5 separate regions of the Homo sapiens genome follow, and all the other regions are linked to region 1. Evidence: promoter capture Hi-C in 16 types of primary human blood cells and fetal thymus (Javierre and others, 2016). All regions are on one chromosome and are shown on one strand. Each heading gives the region's core, a stretch centred on a gene start or on the middle of the fragment in contact. The rest is flanking DNA. Distances are from core to core; before and after follow the strand shown. Region 1 holds the start of FANCB (FA complementation group B). Region 2 has its middle 3.3 kb from the start of TCEANC. Region 3 overlaps OFD1 (OFD1 centriole and centriolar satellite protein). Region 4 overlaps OFD1 (OFD1 centriole and centriolar satellite protein). Region 5 holds the start of RAB9A (RAB9A, member RAS oncogene family).

Region 1 (3,354 bases), core at 416-2,915:
GATGTATAATCTAGGATGGTTTAAAGTTGCAGGGAACCTCTGCTGAGTACTAGTCAAGATGTAGAAGCTTAACTCCTTTCACAGTAACCAAAATGACAACTGAGGCAAAATATTCACTGAGAATCCACTATATTTTAAGACATGCTAGATGGTTTATGTTTTTTTAAAAAATTTAATCCTACTAACTTTATTATTTGCACTTCACAGATATGAAAACGGGCTCAGAATAGACAAGTAAGCTATGTAGTGGCAGGGTTAGGATTACAATCAATCTTAAGGTAGGCAACATATAAATCCTTATTTAATTCCATATTTACAATAAGTTATTCCGTATGTTTTACAAAATTACTGTACAAGCATTAAATATTCAGTTAAGTACCTGACAACTCAAGTATCTGTGACATCTGGACACAGAATGTTCAACCAATAAATCAATTCTGGACTCATAGGTACTTTGCAAGATACAGTTTGGGATAAGAACTTGTTCCAGCATTGGAGGGCCTATTTTGTGGGTAGCATGCTGGGTTGTATGAAAGCCAAATCAAACAAAATATCCAAGGAATTTGTATACCCAATTAAGTACACATCAATAGTATTATGGCAGTTTCCAGGTACATTTTCGCTAGTGTTGCTGGTGAAAGGCCAGCAGTGGAACCGTGGACTGGACAATGTCACCCGTGTTGTGGGCCTAACAAGTATCCTGCAAGTTCCATAAACACGAGGGCATGCTAAAAACTTAACCGATTTCCAACTTACATTAACCCTTTAAAGGGAGCATGGGACACACCACTTGACCATTTGAAGCAGTGCACACGGCTTGTCATGGAGAGGAAAACCTTTGAGACGTGCCCAGCATCATTCCTGTGAGGGTCGAAAGGGTCCCTAACACCTCCCACAAATACACTCACAAACACTCCAGCAAAGTTGGGGATGCTCACTGCACACCTTTCTTAATACCTGGAACAGAGTACCCACCTGTCACATACTCAGCTTCGAACCTCCTCCGGGTCTCAGAGATGAGCTTGGCTTTATTCTGGGCGTGATTCTGGATGGGAGACACGATGGGACCTTAGATACTACTTGCATCAACCCGCTTACCCTCAACCCAGCCCACCTGCACACGGGCGCTCGGTCCCCGGGCCTCAGAGGCGGCTTCCGGGTCCGGGGGGCCAGCGGCGGTGCAATAGGCTCCTCACCTCTGCCATGATCACCGTCGTGGATGTGATTGCGGTTGTCGCCGTCGCCCGTTCTACCGTCGCCGACCGAGTATCTCATCACCCGGCAGTCCCGCCCAGAGGTAGACAGAGAAGGGTGGGAGGGGGAGGCGGTCGCGTGACACCGGAAGGCGGACAGAAGCGCCGCCGCACCGCCCAATCCAATGCGGACGCCTGGGTCTGGAGGCGGGACCAGGCCCTCAGCCTAGGTCCCATTCGATTCTCGTCTGGCCTCGCCCCGCGACATCCCCCGCACTGCGGTCCCGCCCCCGCCAGCCGCGAGATCGCCGGCGCTTCCCCCGCGGAGCTCCGCCCTAGAGAGCTCGCGGGCTCTCTGCTTTCACAACACTCCCCAGGGCCCCGCCTCCTCAGCCTCCCTTGGCCACCTCTCCTGGCTGGCTTCTAGGCTCCGCCTCCTCTGCGTTCGACGCAGCCTCCGCCCGGCCTCCCAGGATGCAGCGCGCTGGCGGGAGGTTTGGAGCAGATGGATACCGTATCGACGTGGGGCCTCCGGTATGTTGCCGCTGCGTTGAGGTAGGATGGGGCTGGCGAGTCTTCCCTTCCCAGGACTTCGCAGAGGGGGCGATGGGGCTGGATTTCCTCCCCTTGTCCCCGCATTGCGGGAGAGAGGGAAGGAAGCGGGCATCCCGAGACCTGGGTCTGTCATTCCTTGCAATGATAATTGGATTTTAAGTGCTACATTCGCTTGAAGTTTTTTTCATCCCTTCAGTATCCTTCCAACTTGGAGTGTGAGATGCTTAATGAGCAAAATATCTCTGAAATCTTTAATCTCAAATAATTATATAAAGTTAAAAAAAGCGTGTTTCGGCTTATTAAGGTAGTTGTGTTCAGCCGGGGGGGTGGGGGGGTGTGTGTGGGGGGGGCGGTTTTACCACCCAGGGGACCTTTGGCAACCTCTGGAGACATTTTTAGTCACCACTGCTAGGGGCCGGGGGCAAAAGAGATGCTCACTGGCTACTAGTGGATAGAGACCAGGGAAGCTGCCAAACATCCTCCAGTGTACATGAAAATTCACAACAGTTATCCAGCCCAAAATGTCAATAGTGTCAAGGTTGAGAAAGATTTAGATTTAAAGGGACTGGAACAAATTTTATTCGTCAGTTAAAAACAATTGAAAGAAAATAGTTGCGCATACAATATTGCCTTTTTTAAAGTTGAAAGATACTGAAAACTACAAACAAGTTGTAAGAATAGTCCCCCATATTTCCATCAACCGTAGTCATCCATGACAGAATGGCATGTTAGCATCTTTTGTCCTAGACTTTTAAATATATTTACATTTTTTATGGGAAAAAATGAACACATTGTTTAAACGTTGTTTGACTACATCCTTAAAAGATATTTCAGATATAACTAAAGTCTCCTTCTACCTCTACTCACCTATCCTGGACACTTCCTTGTCCAGAATCAACAGCATTCAGAATTTGGCATGAAATGTTTACAGTTTTACATTTTTTTATTTTGGATCATACTGCCTGGGTTTGAATCCTGGCTCTGTCACTTCTTATCTGCAAGCCTTTGAGAAGATCCTGAAACTCCTTGCCTCAGTTTCTCCATCTATAAAATGGGATAGTAACAGTGCCTATGTCATAAGGATGTTGTGAGGAAGAAACGAGTTAATCCAAAGTGCTTAGAGCAGTACCTGGCACTGTTTCTTCAGGAAAAAAAAAAAAAATAGTACATGGCACTATTTCTTGAGAAAGCACTCAGGGACTGTAGTCATTGTAGGTAAATAGAACATATATAATGCTGTTTTATTTGTTTTACATAAATAATATGCTGCAGTGTACATTTGTCTGCAACTTAATTTTTAATTCATTTTATTTTTGAAATTTAACCATGATTATATATATATATACACACACACACACACACATATATAGATAGATAGATCTAATTCATTCCTTTTAACTCTTGTTTGATAGTCCATCTATACTCATTCCCCTATTGGTGTTCATTGAGGTTTTTACTTTTTTTATATTGCAAATATCAGCACAGTGAGCTTCTAGAGCAATGTATTCATTCATATGTGGGATTATGTCTCTGGGTTTATATCTACAAATGAAACTACTGGGTATATGCATTTCAGTTGACTGCCAAATTACCTTCAGAGTCATCT
Region 2 (3,162 bases), core at 68-2,567, 1.2 Mb after region 1:
ACTTTTGCCTGTTAAAATAAAAAAAAATTGACGTAATTTAAATTTGGCAGAGTTTATGTGAGCAAAGAATGATTCATGAATCGGACAGCACTCAGAATCAGAATAGGTTCAGAGAGCTTTGTGGGCCGTGAGTATTTATAGACAGAGAATGGAAGTAAAATACAGAAATAGGCTGATTGGTTGCAATCAATGATCAGATCATTTGGATATGATCTGAGAAGTTGGCAGCTTGTGATTGGCTGAAGCTTGTCTGCTTGTGTTTGGCTGAGACTTGGCTGTTTATTATACTCTTCCTTAGGTTAAGCTTTCAGTGTATTTATGTACTAAGTTAAATTGCAATTCATTGTGTAGAAAATCAAAGTACAGAGACAGCCTTGAGCCAATAGCCTCCTGCTTATTTAATTTAACATGCTTTAATGGTATTTCTCTTCTCATTGTTACTTTTTTGGTTCATTTTATGAGTACTCTTGCCCCACTTTGTAAACACTGATTTAAAAATCCGAAGGACTATTGGCTCCTAGACCAACCATCTCTAGTTTTAGACAGTTACCTAGGAAAAATACTTTCTTTGTGATCAGATTTGTAACATGCAATTCTTAAAATATCTGATATTTGTCAAAACAATGGCACTCAAACTATGAAAGGCTCAATCTGAAGGAGTCAGTTTGGAAACTAGAAGTTACTACAGAAGTGGTCATTAGAGCTTTGAGGCATATTATAATCAATTTCTCATGAACTCTATGCTGAAGAAAAAAACAGAAATTACTCAAAAGTCTAAAATCAAAAACAACCTAGTGTTTTCTCTGGTGTGAAGGATAAGACCATTATTTCAACTAAGAGGCAAGCTATAATTACTGCGTAGTCCTGCCTTGTCTACTACAGTAGCCACATGTGGCTATTCAGATAAAATTTAAACTTCAGTTCCTCAGTTGCACTAGCTAAATGTCAAGTTCTCAATAGCCACCTGTGGCTAGTGGGTACCATATTGGATAGCACAGATATAGAACATGCTCATTGCTGTAGAAATTTCTGGCTGAGTTCATCTGGAATGAATCTAGGGCTGCCAGTGGATTCTAAAGAGGTTGCTGAAAAGTTTGTTCTTTTGGGCAATTTAAAAATGGAATACCTATAAAAGTACTCACATCTATGATAATTTATCATGCATAGTTTTCAGGCCTTTGTTTTAAAATCATCTTTCAGCTGCTTCAATACTCTGGAATTCTCTTTGATAAATTTCCCTTAGTGCAGCGGAAACCTCTTTTCAATCCTTATTAAGTCTCTGAGTGGCAATATATTAATAGATATTCTGAGCTCATGCAGACAGCCCTTTCCTGCAAATTCCCACGGAAGAGAGACAAAATCTTATGGGCCTTCTCCAGAGGCTAATGTTACACATTGCTGAGGGAACAGTTACAGATGTTTTCCATGGAATGAGGTCATAGAAACTGCCTCTTTCTGGGTTCTGAGGTGCCGGCCGGTGTTCATTTCCTGATAAAACACCAGGACCAGACACTGGGCTTAACTGGGGATGTTCTTATAAGTCACAGTACATAAGGCATGGGATTAAAACGATGAAGAGTTCCCTTGAAATCTCAGGAGTTACAGAATATTAGGAAATAGAACAAAAAGTCATACATTATAGAAACAGAAACTTTATGTTTAAGTTCTGCAACATATTTCTCAGACTTATGCAGGTGAAATGACAGAGAAGCAGCGAACATGGTATCTCCAGTGAACATCCCCAGAGGCTTCCAGAAGAGCTAGTTCAACGGGTCAGGCAGTCCCTGGCTGGTGGGCCACAGATTGCTTAAACCAACCTAATACCTCTTTTGTTCTTTGGAGGGGCCCACTTTGGAGATTTTTTGGAGGACCCTCCCTTTGCTGGTAGCCCCTTATTACCCATTCCATGGTTCAGATGCTGCACCCTCTGGTTAACCGCTGGCTCCTGCTTTTGGTAGCACATCCCACACAAACTTTTTCTGTCGGGTTACCTCACCTGCAGGCCTGTTGGTCAGGGTCCTTCCAAGACAGCCTAGGCCCAGCTGCTTGCTTGATGTGCACTTAGCCCATGGGAACAACCCAGCGGCCCTGCTCCCCGCCCAGCCCTGGAAGCAGGGCTGTTCCCTCTGCAGCCCTTCTCGTCATCTTCACAGTTGGTCTTAGGTAGCTCTAGCTGGCTTCTCGCCTATTTATTGTTTTTTTTTTTTTTTTTTTTTTTTTTTTGGAGAGTCAGACACCATTCTACAACAGGGGCACCTGTCAATCTCTCTGAGTGGTTCTCTCAAAGTCACCCTCACTTGCCTTGGAGTGGGGGTGGGAAGGAAGCTTCCAGAACTGTAACAACCCTCTTTCACTGTTGCCTTCTCCTGTACATAAGCTGAAGAGTGGCAAACGGGCATGGGTGACAGGAGTTTTTGGCTCATCATTTAGTAAGCCCTGGGTAAATGGTCTAACATCTCTCATTAGAACCAGCAGACACTTAACATTGTGCTCTCACCTTTGGGGCCTTGGACAAAACTCTGAGTCAGGAAATATCCCATTTAACACCTTCTTGTACCTGTAGTAATCTCCAGATCAGTTCCATACCTCTTATTCTCCTTTTCTATACCATTTGTCCATTTTGCTAATTTCTCTAGAAGGTATGTTATTCTACCATAGATTTATGGCAACATTTAGTGGAGGAATGATGAAGGACCAGAAAGTCTGGCTTCAGTCACCTCTTGGTTGATATGGTTTGGCTGTGTCCCCACCCAAATCTCATCTTGAATTGTAGTTCCTATAATGCCTATGTGTTGTGGGAGGGACCTGGTGGGAGGTAATTGATTCATGGGAGCAGTTACCACCATGCCGTTCTTGTAATAGTGAGTTCTCATGAGATCTGATGGCTTTATAAGGGGTGTTTCCCCTTTTGCTCTGTACTTCTCCTTGCTTTCACCATGTGAAGAAGGATATGTTTGCTTCCCCTTCCGCCATGATTGTAAGTTTCCTGAGGCCTCCCCAGCCCTGCAGAACTGTGAGTCAATTAAACCTATTTGCTTATTAAATTACCCAGTCTCAGGTATTTCTTCACAGTGGTGTGAGAATGTACTAATACATTGGTGCATATCATAAGAGGAAAATTCAGAGGCAGTGCAACATCTTTACTATTTTGTTACTAGGGAT
Region 3 (3,044 bases), core at 498-2,997, 1.1 Mb after region 1:
AATCTCTTCAGCAATTAAAGAAAATATTAAATAATCCACTGGGCTGTATTGGGCATAAAAGTGCCACTAGCACGTCTGTAGTTCTCTATAAAGTAAGAATTTTTCTGACTAGTTTTTCAACAAATAAATGCCATCTACCTATAGGATCAACAAAGCTTAAACGTGGGCAAAGCAGAAACAAAATAAGGGCATGTGTGTAGTTATTTTTCAAACCAAAGGTACAAAAGTCTATTGAAAGATTTACTCTGGAATACAAAAAAACCTAGTTCTAACAGTTGACTCTCTAGAGTAGCCAAGCTAAATATGTTACTTAGGATTTTATTTTATAATCTGTTTAAACTCTTACCTCTCAACATGATTATGCATTTGGATTCTCTGCGTCTGACCTTTCTTAGTGAGGCCCAGCCTTTGTCACTATTGACACATGGCCATTCCTAAATGAGGTGCTGACTCTAGATCATCACCCTTCCTTCATGCATGGCAGAACAATCAGGAGGCTCAATTAGTGTGCTATTTGTCACACTACTTAGTATCTTCTGTTTAAGTAGCATTTTGTGCAATTATTTAAGTCACATGAGTCACCAGAGGAAAACTGTAAATAATGGTTAGATAAAATCACAAGCAGCCTCTTAATTACCCATAGTGATCCTGCCACGAAACCTAGGACCCTTTAGAGGGTTCAGTAGAGATTTTTTTCCAGTTCTGCCTTGTAAAACTTGATTTTTTAAGAGATGAAGTCAATTATAGGGAAGGAGCCCATTCATTTAAAAACAAAGGAAATACGCCCATTCATTAAGTATGAGGACCAAAGGTTCCATAATAAAGATGCTATCTCAGTCTGTTCCTGCTGCTATAGCAAAATACCTTAGACTGGGTAACTTACAAAGACCAGAAATGTATTTCTTACAGTTTTAGAGGCTGGGAAGTCGAAGATCAAGGAAGGCACTGGCAGGTTCGATGTCTGGTGAAGGCCCGGTCTCGGCTTCCAAGATGGTGCCTTGTTGCTGTGTTCTCCAGAGGGGATCAATGCAGTGTCTTCAAATGGTGCAAGGGCAAAAGGGCCTAGCTAGTTCCATTGAGCCCTTTTATAAGGTCACTAATCCCACTCTTAGTCACCTGCAAAAGGTGCCACCTCTTAATTCTATCACACGGGGGGGTTTAAATTCCAACATATGAATTTTGGAGGGACACATACATACAAACCACAGACATCAGAAGTAAAGACCAGAGGCAGTATCTTTCTTACTATTTCTAATGCCTAGAAAAATCTGTTTTTATGTTCAGGGACAAAACAGGAGTGTGCTAGGAAAAATGACCTCCTGTTTTACAGGTGGCAGCCCAACTTTGGAGAGGAAAGAACACAGCTTATACTTCCAAAATGTAGGCCTGCAGTTGAGCAGTAAGATAGGTTATACTCATTTATAAATTTAAGACAAAAATAAGGAGGTTAAAAGCCAGTTACTTTTATTATAATGAATGAGAAATACTATGACTGGAGAAGAGGTTTCACGTGACTAGATTATTCTTGGTTCACACACTATGGTATCAAAATTAATTATGGAAAAAAAAACCCACATTGGATTACACACATTTTTATTGAGTTTTGTCTGATGATAGGGAAACATTTACAAAGGAGTAAATGTTACGTAACTTCTCACGGTATGTAAGTTAGAAGCTGGGCAGCAAACATGGTTACCAAGAGTCGTCTAGTTCTTCATGAGAAAAGCCTGTTAAACTAAATTAGGGAAAGATAAAAATTAAAATGTAAAAATTTGTGTCAAGTTTATTTGCTATCTTCATAATGTTCTCAATTCCTTCCCTGGGGGGTTTCTGCCCTAGTTTACAATTTATATCAGGATCAATTTCACAAGTCAAAAAACTCAATTGTTTTTATAGTCACTAATTTTGACTGATTCAATAACTTCTTACAGGCAATCTCAAACATCTGTTTCTCTTGGCTGACAAAATAAGCAATTAACAGTTTGTGTATGAAAGTGTGTAGGGAAAACAGGTACCTTTCGACTTTGTCACTAGATTGCAGCGTGTCCACTAGGGAGCCTTCTTGGACCATCTTTTTTGAGCTCTGATTACATGGAGAGGGTGGAAAATTTTGAAATTAGATATGCATTAATTTCATGAAATACTTTAAGAACCATTTTTGAAATATATATGTAATTTAAAAGTCTAAAAAAGAGGTGACTTTTAAACATGAAATTTAGCAAGCACATCAAAATAAACTATAGGGTATGCATTTAACACCCATAATACTTCAGACTTACATAAAATATTAATGTCAGTATTAATGCATTTGATAGATCTTTTCTTTCTTAATGAGCCACCCCAACTTTTACAAATTAAAATCTCTTAAATCTTTTACCTTAAGCAAAAAAGCTATGAATTTTTGTCAAAAGAATAGTATATTTAAAAGACTCAAGGTTCCATTTGAACTTTGGATTTTCTATACTTTTCACCTTTTTGTCTTCAATGGAGAAGACGGATTCCCGTCCCAAGAAGTTAAGCCACGGAAGCCCTGGATGTCCCCCACCCACAGATTGCCCTGCCCATGGCACTGGCACCTTATCTGCCGACTCCTGGTCTTGCTCCTGCTGGATGATTTTCATGTATTTCTCTAAAGGATTTTCACTGTGAGCAGATTTGTCTTTTATTTCTTGATTACTCATTTCTAATTCATTTTCCATTTCTAATTCCTTTTTTATTTTAATCTTCAGTGATTCTTCAATCATCTTCTATAAAACAGGCACCAAAACAGAAAATACACAAATACATTTGTAAAACTTTTAAGTGTTTTAAAAATGCACTAATATTAATCCCGATCCTTCAAGTACAGCCTGTATGCCAGAGGACTAATTTTTAAAATTGAAGTCATTGCTATCATCAAAGGAAGACAAATATGTCATCTCAATGAAGGAAGGTATTAATTGGCAAGTGTCCTGTGCTTTGGACTTGAATTAACCAAGAGTCCAAGGAACATTCATATGTTAGAGTAATTCAAGCAAGACTTAGCAGGTGTGTTAAGTGGACAG
Region 4 (2,816 bases), core at 12-2,511, 1.1 Mb after region 1:
CTTTATCATCTAATTAACTTCTAAGTACTTCACATCAAAGATGATATGCCTAAATGTTTAATGCCTTACAGATGACACTGAAATATCTGATGAACCAATGACTACATGACTGAGTTCCTGGGTCATTCAATTACAATTTTTTAAAAAGTATTCATTGTTTAAAAATGTAAATAGATTTTTACTGTCCTTAAAACCGTAATTAAAGTGTACTTAAAATATTGTTTAACAGACATTTTGGGTAGCTATTAAAATATATTTCTACTACAGTATATACCATTCACTATGTCTGCTCTGAGAACACTGATATTTGTTTTCAATTGGTTTTCCTTTAAAGTAAATATTCTGCATGGGCATTTTACATTAGTAGAAACCGTTAAGTTGTATGAATAGGATTAATTCCTGCTATATAATTGTATTATTGACTATTACACAATAAGTAAAAGTATAAAGTGATTAGAAAGTTAGAGAATGATGTATCAAAAATGAATTCCAGGCCAGACACGAGGGCTCATGCTTGTTATCCCAGCTCTTTGGGAGATTGAGGTGGGCAGATCACCTGGGGTCAGGATTCGAGACCAGCCTGGCCAACATGGTGAAACCTCCTCTCTACTAAAAATAAAAAAGTTAGCCAGGTGTAGTGGTGGGCACCTGTAATCCCAGCTACTTGGGAGGCTGAGGCAGGAGAATTGCTTGAACACAGGAGGCAGAGGTTGCAGTGAGCCAAGACTGCGCCATTGCACTCCAGACTGGGTAACAGAGCAAGACTCTGTCTCAAAAACATAAATTAATAAATAAATTCCTAATGCTGACAAATAAAATTTGGTTGCTTATGAAGAAATGCAAATTATTTAAGTTTTCATTCAAATACTGTACTAAGCTTGTGTCACTAAAACTTTGGAATATGAAACTTTTGGATAATTACAGAAAACACAAAGAAAGTAAAAACATATGAACACCACCAAGAGTGAAATTTATTTTATTTTTGAGACAGTCTCGCTCTGTCACCCAGGCTGGAGTGCAGTGGCATGATCTCGGCTCACTGCAACCTTCACTGTAAACTATGGCCTCTGGGTGATAATGACATGTCAGGGTAGGCTTATAGATTGTAGCAAATGTACCACCTTGATGCAAGATGTTGACAGTGGGGGAGGCTATGAGTGTGTAGGGGCAGCAGGTATATGGGAATTCTCTGTACTTCCCACTTAACTTTGCTGTGAACCCAAAACTGCTCTGAAAAAATAAAGTCTATTAAAAAAAAAAAAACACGCACATATCCACAGGGAAAGTCTGCTGTATCTGCCTTTAAAATAATAAAGTAGTACTAATGTTCAACAGTAATGGTGAAGAAATATAGTTAAAATAATTAGAAAAGTAGTAAAAAAAAAAAACAAGTGTTTTTAATATTTGAGAACTTTACAGATTTTTTAAATTACGTATTTCTCACTTATCTAATTACAAAGAGAAACATCTGAAGAAACTAGTGCAGGAAAAAAAGAGCTCATGTTAGAGATCTAGATTTACCACCCTGCATTGTCACTTAAAAGTTACTTGATGTTGGGCAAATTGATTCACCTCTCCAGAGTCTGGTTCCTCATCCGTAACACACAAAACATCTGCAGTGTGCCTATCACAGTGCCAAGCTTACAGCAGACATTCAGCAGATTGGCAGAGTCTTATTAGACAAGATAGAGGATAGATAGATCAATTATAGGTCTGAAACATTTAGAGATTCTATACATCACTGTTTTATGTGAGACTAAATGAGACGCCAAGAAATTAATTTCAAATTTAGTACCCACTTGTTATATAACAAATATATTATGTGCAGGTACAATGTGAATTCAAAGAGGAAACAGAAATGGACCTAGTCGAGGAGCACTTAGCTATCATACAGCACTTTACTGTCAGCAGAGGAAGAACCTGTTAATAAAAACTTCAGAAACAGAAAAGGAAAGACTTTACCTTTTCTTTTGCCAAACCACTTTCTGGAAAGAAAACAGAAAGTGAATATTCATAGCCACATCTTTGTAAGTGATCTGCCACTAAAGAGTTAGAGGCGCCTATTAAGAGGGAGCTCCCTTCTACTGAAATGGACCGAGGCTGCAGTTCTCCACTCAATACAGGGTGCATCAACTCATGAATTAGCTGGTTTCGAAGTTGTGTCTAGCATAAAATAAAAACAAAAATAAAAAAGAAACACAAGGGAAAGAAATTTCAGCAGGACTGTTTCATTAGAGATATACACAGATGAGCTACATTCATTGGAAACCTTCCTTCTATTTCCATAATGGTTCTAGATCCATGGCCAGAAGTTAGAAACCTTCCCCTGCACACTTTGTCTTACCCCGTGAGACAAGCAGTCCAGTGGGTTCTAGAAAAAGCTTTCTTTCCCCAGCTTCCAAATGAAACGGGTGGTTAGCCAGATCCACTTGCAGACTCATAACTTCACTTCCCTAGAAGCCCATTTCAGCAGCTTACGATTGGGATATTAAGTATAGGAAAAAATTCTGCCACTTCATCACACCTCTGTGGACTGTTGGAGAATATAACCAAAATATTCAACAACAGGGGACTGCTATATACATTACAAAAATATCCAAAGATAAGCCTGTTGCCACTGAAAATGAAGATTTCAAAAAACTTTTAAGGAAACAGGGAAATGCTCACCATATAATTTAAATTAAAAAAGGATACATACACAGGATATAGCTACATATTTTAAACGTAAAATATGCTTTTGAAATGCATATTTCAATGAAAACACGTTGAGCTAATCCTACTCCTGGCTGTTAATCCAAATATAAAGCATACTAATA
Region 5 (3,480 bases), core at 290-2,789, 1.2 Mb after region 1:
GACACCCGCGCACTCCGCCCGGTCCCGAAGGAGTCCCGAGTCCCGCTCACCTCGCGGCCACACGAAAGACGACCCGGGAGCTCTGGGCCGGCCCGTCTGGGCGCAATGAGGACAGAGAGAGGGTCGGGGACCTGCACAGCAGGAGGCAGCCGCGGTAGCGCAGCCAGGCTCCCGCTCCAGCTGCTCCCGTCCAGCGCGGAGGGAACAACATGGCGACGGGCCGGGGCGGGGCCAGGGAAAAAGCGGGGCGGGGCCTGGAAGGCGGGGTCCCGCGGCCGAGACCCTGGGGGACGGGCGCGGGGAAGGTGGAGCCGAGGCAGGCGGGGCCTGGATCGTGCTTTTCCTTCGGGTCGATTGCTCCTGAAGTGTCCTCCCGTCTGCGTTCGGGCGACAGCGAGTACGAAATAACTGTCATTTTGAAAAGTTTACGTAAAGTGGAAATAAACAGACCTCATGAGCACAGTCACAGGATGTCGTGATTACAATGATAAAAACGACTAGTCAAACGGACAAAGAACAAACAGGTGGATGAAAAATGAAAACAGTTGTGATACTGTGGAAAAACAAGAACTTTTTAAATGAAGCTATTAAAACTTTCCTTTAATCTTGTTAAAATACTGCCTCTGTCATCTCTGAATAGAAAGCGATGGTGCAAAAGGTGGTATTGGAGAAGCTCTCCTTAAGTCCTTGCTTTATGTATGAAGTTGAGTGCATGGATCCTATGATACAGAACCCTACAGGCGGGAGGGACTCATAGGGACATCTCAATACGTTTTGTACGGTGATTTAGTTTGTTTATCAGAAAACCAAATACTGCGTGTTCTCACTCATAAGTAGAAGCTAAATGATGAGAACTCATGGTCACATAGAGAGGAACAAGAGACACCAGGGCCCACTTGAGGGTTGAGGGTGTGAGGAGGAAAAGGAGCAGAAAAAAACTAGGTATCAAGTACTATGCTTATTACCTGGGTAACTAAATAATCCGTACACCAAGCCCTTGCAACAGGCAGTTTACCTACATGACAAACCTACACATGTACCCCTAAACCTAAAATAAAAGCTTTTTAAAAAAGATTTAGTCTGTTTATTTTCCAAGACAAAGATCTCACTTTTATGATGCTGGGGCTCACAACAAGTTAAATAATCTCCAGCTTTTTGGGGAGTCATTTTCAGGTAATGACTTTTCATTCAGCACTAGAAAGGTCATGTTTGAGAAAGTTCCTCACAAATTAAAAAGGCAATTTTAGAATGCTTCTGAAAACGACACATAAGCTTAAATAATTGTTTTCTCATAAACAGAAATCTATTTCTTATCTGCAGGTCATTTCCCCAAGGAAATATGTATAAACGTTTATAAAATACAAATCTGTTAAATTGGGGGGAAGAAGAAATATACACTATCTTGTTTTAAAACACATATTAAAAGTACACAGTAAAACATTATATATGAACACTAGAGTTAATTTTCCAATAGAAAAAAAAGTCATGTACATTGGGTCAAATTGCAACAAGCAATCCACAGGGTAATTAAAGAAATGCCACCTGAAAATCGTATATCCTAACCATAGTCAAGGAGTGATCAAATAGGAGTTTATCTGTGCAACTGCTAATGCCAACTAGCTATTAACAAGTGATCTCATAAAATTATTGTATTTTGAGTTAAAATAAACCTTGACAAACCCAACAGCTTTCATAAAAATGTTCTAAGAAGGTTCCATAAGTGACTCTCAGGCTGTTCCAAAATGTAAGAAGGCATTCAAACATATTTGAGTGTAGCTTATAGTACCTTAAGAAAGAATAAGCTTAGAAAGTTACTTTCTCTAAAATTACTATCAGTTGGATACTAGCCAACTGACATTTAAGAAAGTTAGTATATTCTGGTCTCTTCCACCATTCACTTCTTAACCACATTTCTATGTCAGTGCAAGAGTAAAGTGGGTTAAAAGATTTTTCTCTGAAGGGCAAGTTTGGGGGATTTTTGTTATTGGATGTGTGTGGTTGGTAAGCTGATGCAAGTTGGATAGACAGTTGCTATCTCTCTTGCTCCATAAACTTGTTCCTTGATGAAAACATTAAAGAACTAACCTAGTTTGACTCCCTTCATCTAACGAAGATTTTCATCTTTATATTCTGTAAACACCAATGCATCACTCACGGGAGAGAAAGAGGCCAAAGTTGCTATGCATAAATGATTCTTTTACTTAAATAACACCTACTTATTACTATAAGTACTAGGAGTTAATACCCCATCTCAAGCTGGAGACTGAAAGAAATCACTTCTGGCATCTCTGATGAAAAGCTACAAGTGGCTGGGCGTGGTGGCTCACGCCTGTAATCCCAGCACTTTGGGAGGCCGAGGCCGGTGGATAATGAGGTCAGGAGTTTGAGACTAGCCTGGCCAACATGGTGAAACCCCGTCTCTACTAAAAATACAAAAAAATTAGCTGGGTGTGGTGGCGTGCGCCTGTAATCCCAGCAACTCAGGAGACTGAGGCAGGAGAATCACTTGAACCCGGGAGGTGGAGGTTGCAGTGAGTCAAGATTGCGTGCCACTGCACTCCAGCCTGGGCAACAGAGTAAGACTCTGTCTCAAGAAAAAAAAAAAGCTACAAGTAAGTGGGCCCTAGACTCGGGTACAGTAAATACTGATGATAATTGAACTGCTTTTATTTTCACATACAAGGAAAAACACAGAACTCAGTTGTAGACCATTTCACCATTATATTACATATGTAAATAGTCACAAATTTGATATTTTTCCTAAGTTGTTTGGCCAAATAACAGATTTGGTCGTAATACTGCATAGATGTTCTTCTATAGCTGTACTAAGAGGGGGAAAAAGCATAAAATATACATAAAAGTAACTCAAAATTTGTTATATTTGGCTTTAAAGTCAAGCCGGAGTGAAAATTCATAACAACATATGTTAAGTGAAAAAGAACATTACCAAATAGTATATGGAAGAAAAATCCCAATTTGGTTGAGGAAGCGTTTTTTATAATATATAGCTTTTCAACATATATTGACGTATTTAATAATGCATTTATTTATATACTTACATATTTATATAATATATACATCTTCAATATTTTATACCAATGTCACACTTACCCAGTTTGCCTAGATACTAAGTTCAGCATGTTTCTTGCACTAATATAGAACTTTTGATAGTGATTCTTAAGTCAGATAAAATTTCAATGTATAAGGAAATGCCAGAAATTGGATTTCTTCACTGCTCTGCTTAAAAAGGAGTTCTCAAGCAAAAATGAATAGGAGCATCATCCTTAATCCATATATCACCAGTGAGCAAATTTCAGAATTTCCAGACTCAGATTGATGTAAGCAAATGAAAATTCTGGCCCTCAATCAAATAAAACATATATTCTTTCATGAGTCCCATGAATTCTATCCAGTGGACACTGTCAAATGGCAACCTGGGCGTCAAAAGCCATTGCCATGCTTCCTTCTGTCAACCTACAC

The links. Contacts are between HindIII fragments. The CHiCAGO score rates a contact against its expected background, and 5 or more counts as called.
Region 2: a fragment that was not itself captured here is called in contact with the fragment with the promoter of FANCB in region 1 in 5 of 17 cell types (total CD8 T cells, non-activated CD4 T cells, activated CD4 T cells and 2 more); the score reaches 8.5 in total CD8 T cells.
Region 3: a contact is called between a fragment that was not itself captured here and the fragment with the promoter of FANCB in region 1, in 1 of 17 cell types (total B cells). The highest score is 6.0, in total B cells.
Region 4: a fragment that was not itself captured here is called in contact with the fragment with the promoter of FANCB in region 1 in 2 of 17 cell types (fetal thymus and non-activated CD4 T cells); the score reaches 6.6 in fetal thymus.
Region 5: a contact is called between a fragment that was not itself captured here and the fragment with the promoter of FANCB in region 1, in 1 of 17 cell types (fetal thymus). The highest score is 6.9, in fetal thymus.

The regions. Positions count from the first base shown.
Region 1 is chrX:14,871,380-14,874,733 of GRCh38, reverse strand. FANCB (FA complementation group B) reads left to right here and starts at 1,665. Exons shown (of 10, transcript NM_001018113.3): 1 at 1,665-1,748. MOSPD2 (motile sperm domain containing 2) reads right to left here and starts at 1,313. Exons shown (of 15, transcript NM_152581.4): 1 at 1,197-1,313; 2 at 976-1,045. The coding sequence starts at 1,205. RefSeq lists a silencer at 1,346-1,575. The HindIII fragment of the contact is 4,870 bases long and covers 70-3,354 here.
Region 2 is chrX:13,648,254-13,651,415 of GRCh38, reverse strand. No RefSeq gene overlaps it. Among named protein-coding and RNA genes, the nearest start is that of TCEANC, 3.3 kb to the left of the region's middle. The HindIII fragment of the contact is 2,021 bases long and covers 307-2,327 here.
Region 3 is chrX:13,767,757-13,770,800 of GRCh38, reverse strand. It overlaps OFD1 (OFD1 centriole and centriolar satellite protein), which reads right to left. Exons shown (of 23, transcript NM_003611.3): 21 at 2,577-2,747; 22 at 2,016-2,083; 23 at 1,444-1,735. The coding sequence ends at 1,693. Among named protein-coding and RNA genes, the nearest start is that of OFD1, 35 kb to the right of the region's middle. The HindIII fragment of the contact is 3,179 bases long and covers 158-3,044 here.
Region 4 is chrX:13,735,825-13,738,640 of GRCh38, reverse strand. It overlaps OFD1 (OFD1 centriole and centriolar satellite protein), which reads right to left. Exons shown (of 23, transcript NM_003611.3): 3 at 1,963-2,163. Among named protein-coding and RNA genes, the nearest start is that of OFD1, 2.5 kb to the right of the region's middle. The HindIII fragment of the contact is 763 bases long and covers 880-1,642 here.
Region 5 is chrX:13,685,859-13,689,338 of GRCh38, reverse strand. RAB9A (RAB9A, member RAS oncogene family) reads right to left here and starts at 211. Exons shown (of 3, transcript NM_004251.5): 1 at 51-211. RefSeq lists silencers at 1-61, 72-311 and an enhancer at 462-511. The HindIII fragment of the contact is 530 bases long and covers 1,275-1,804 here.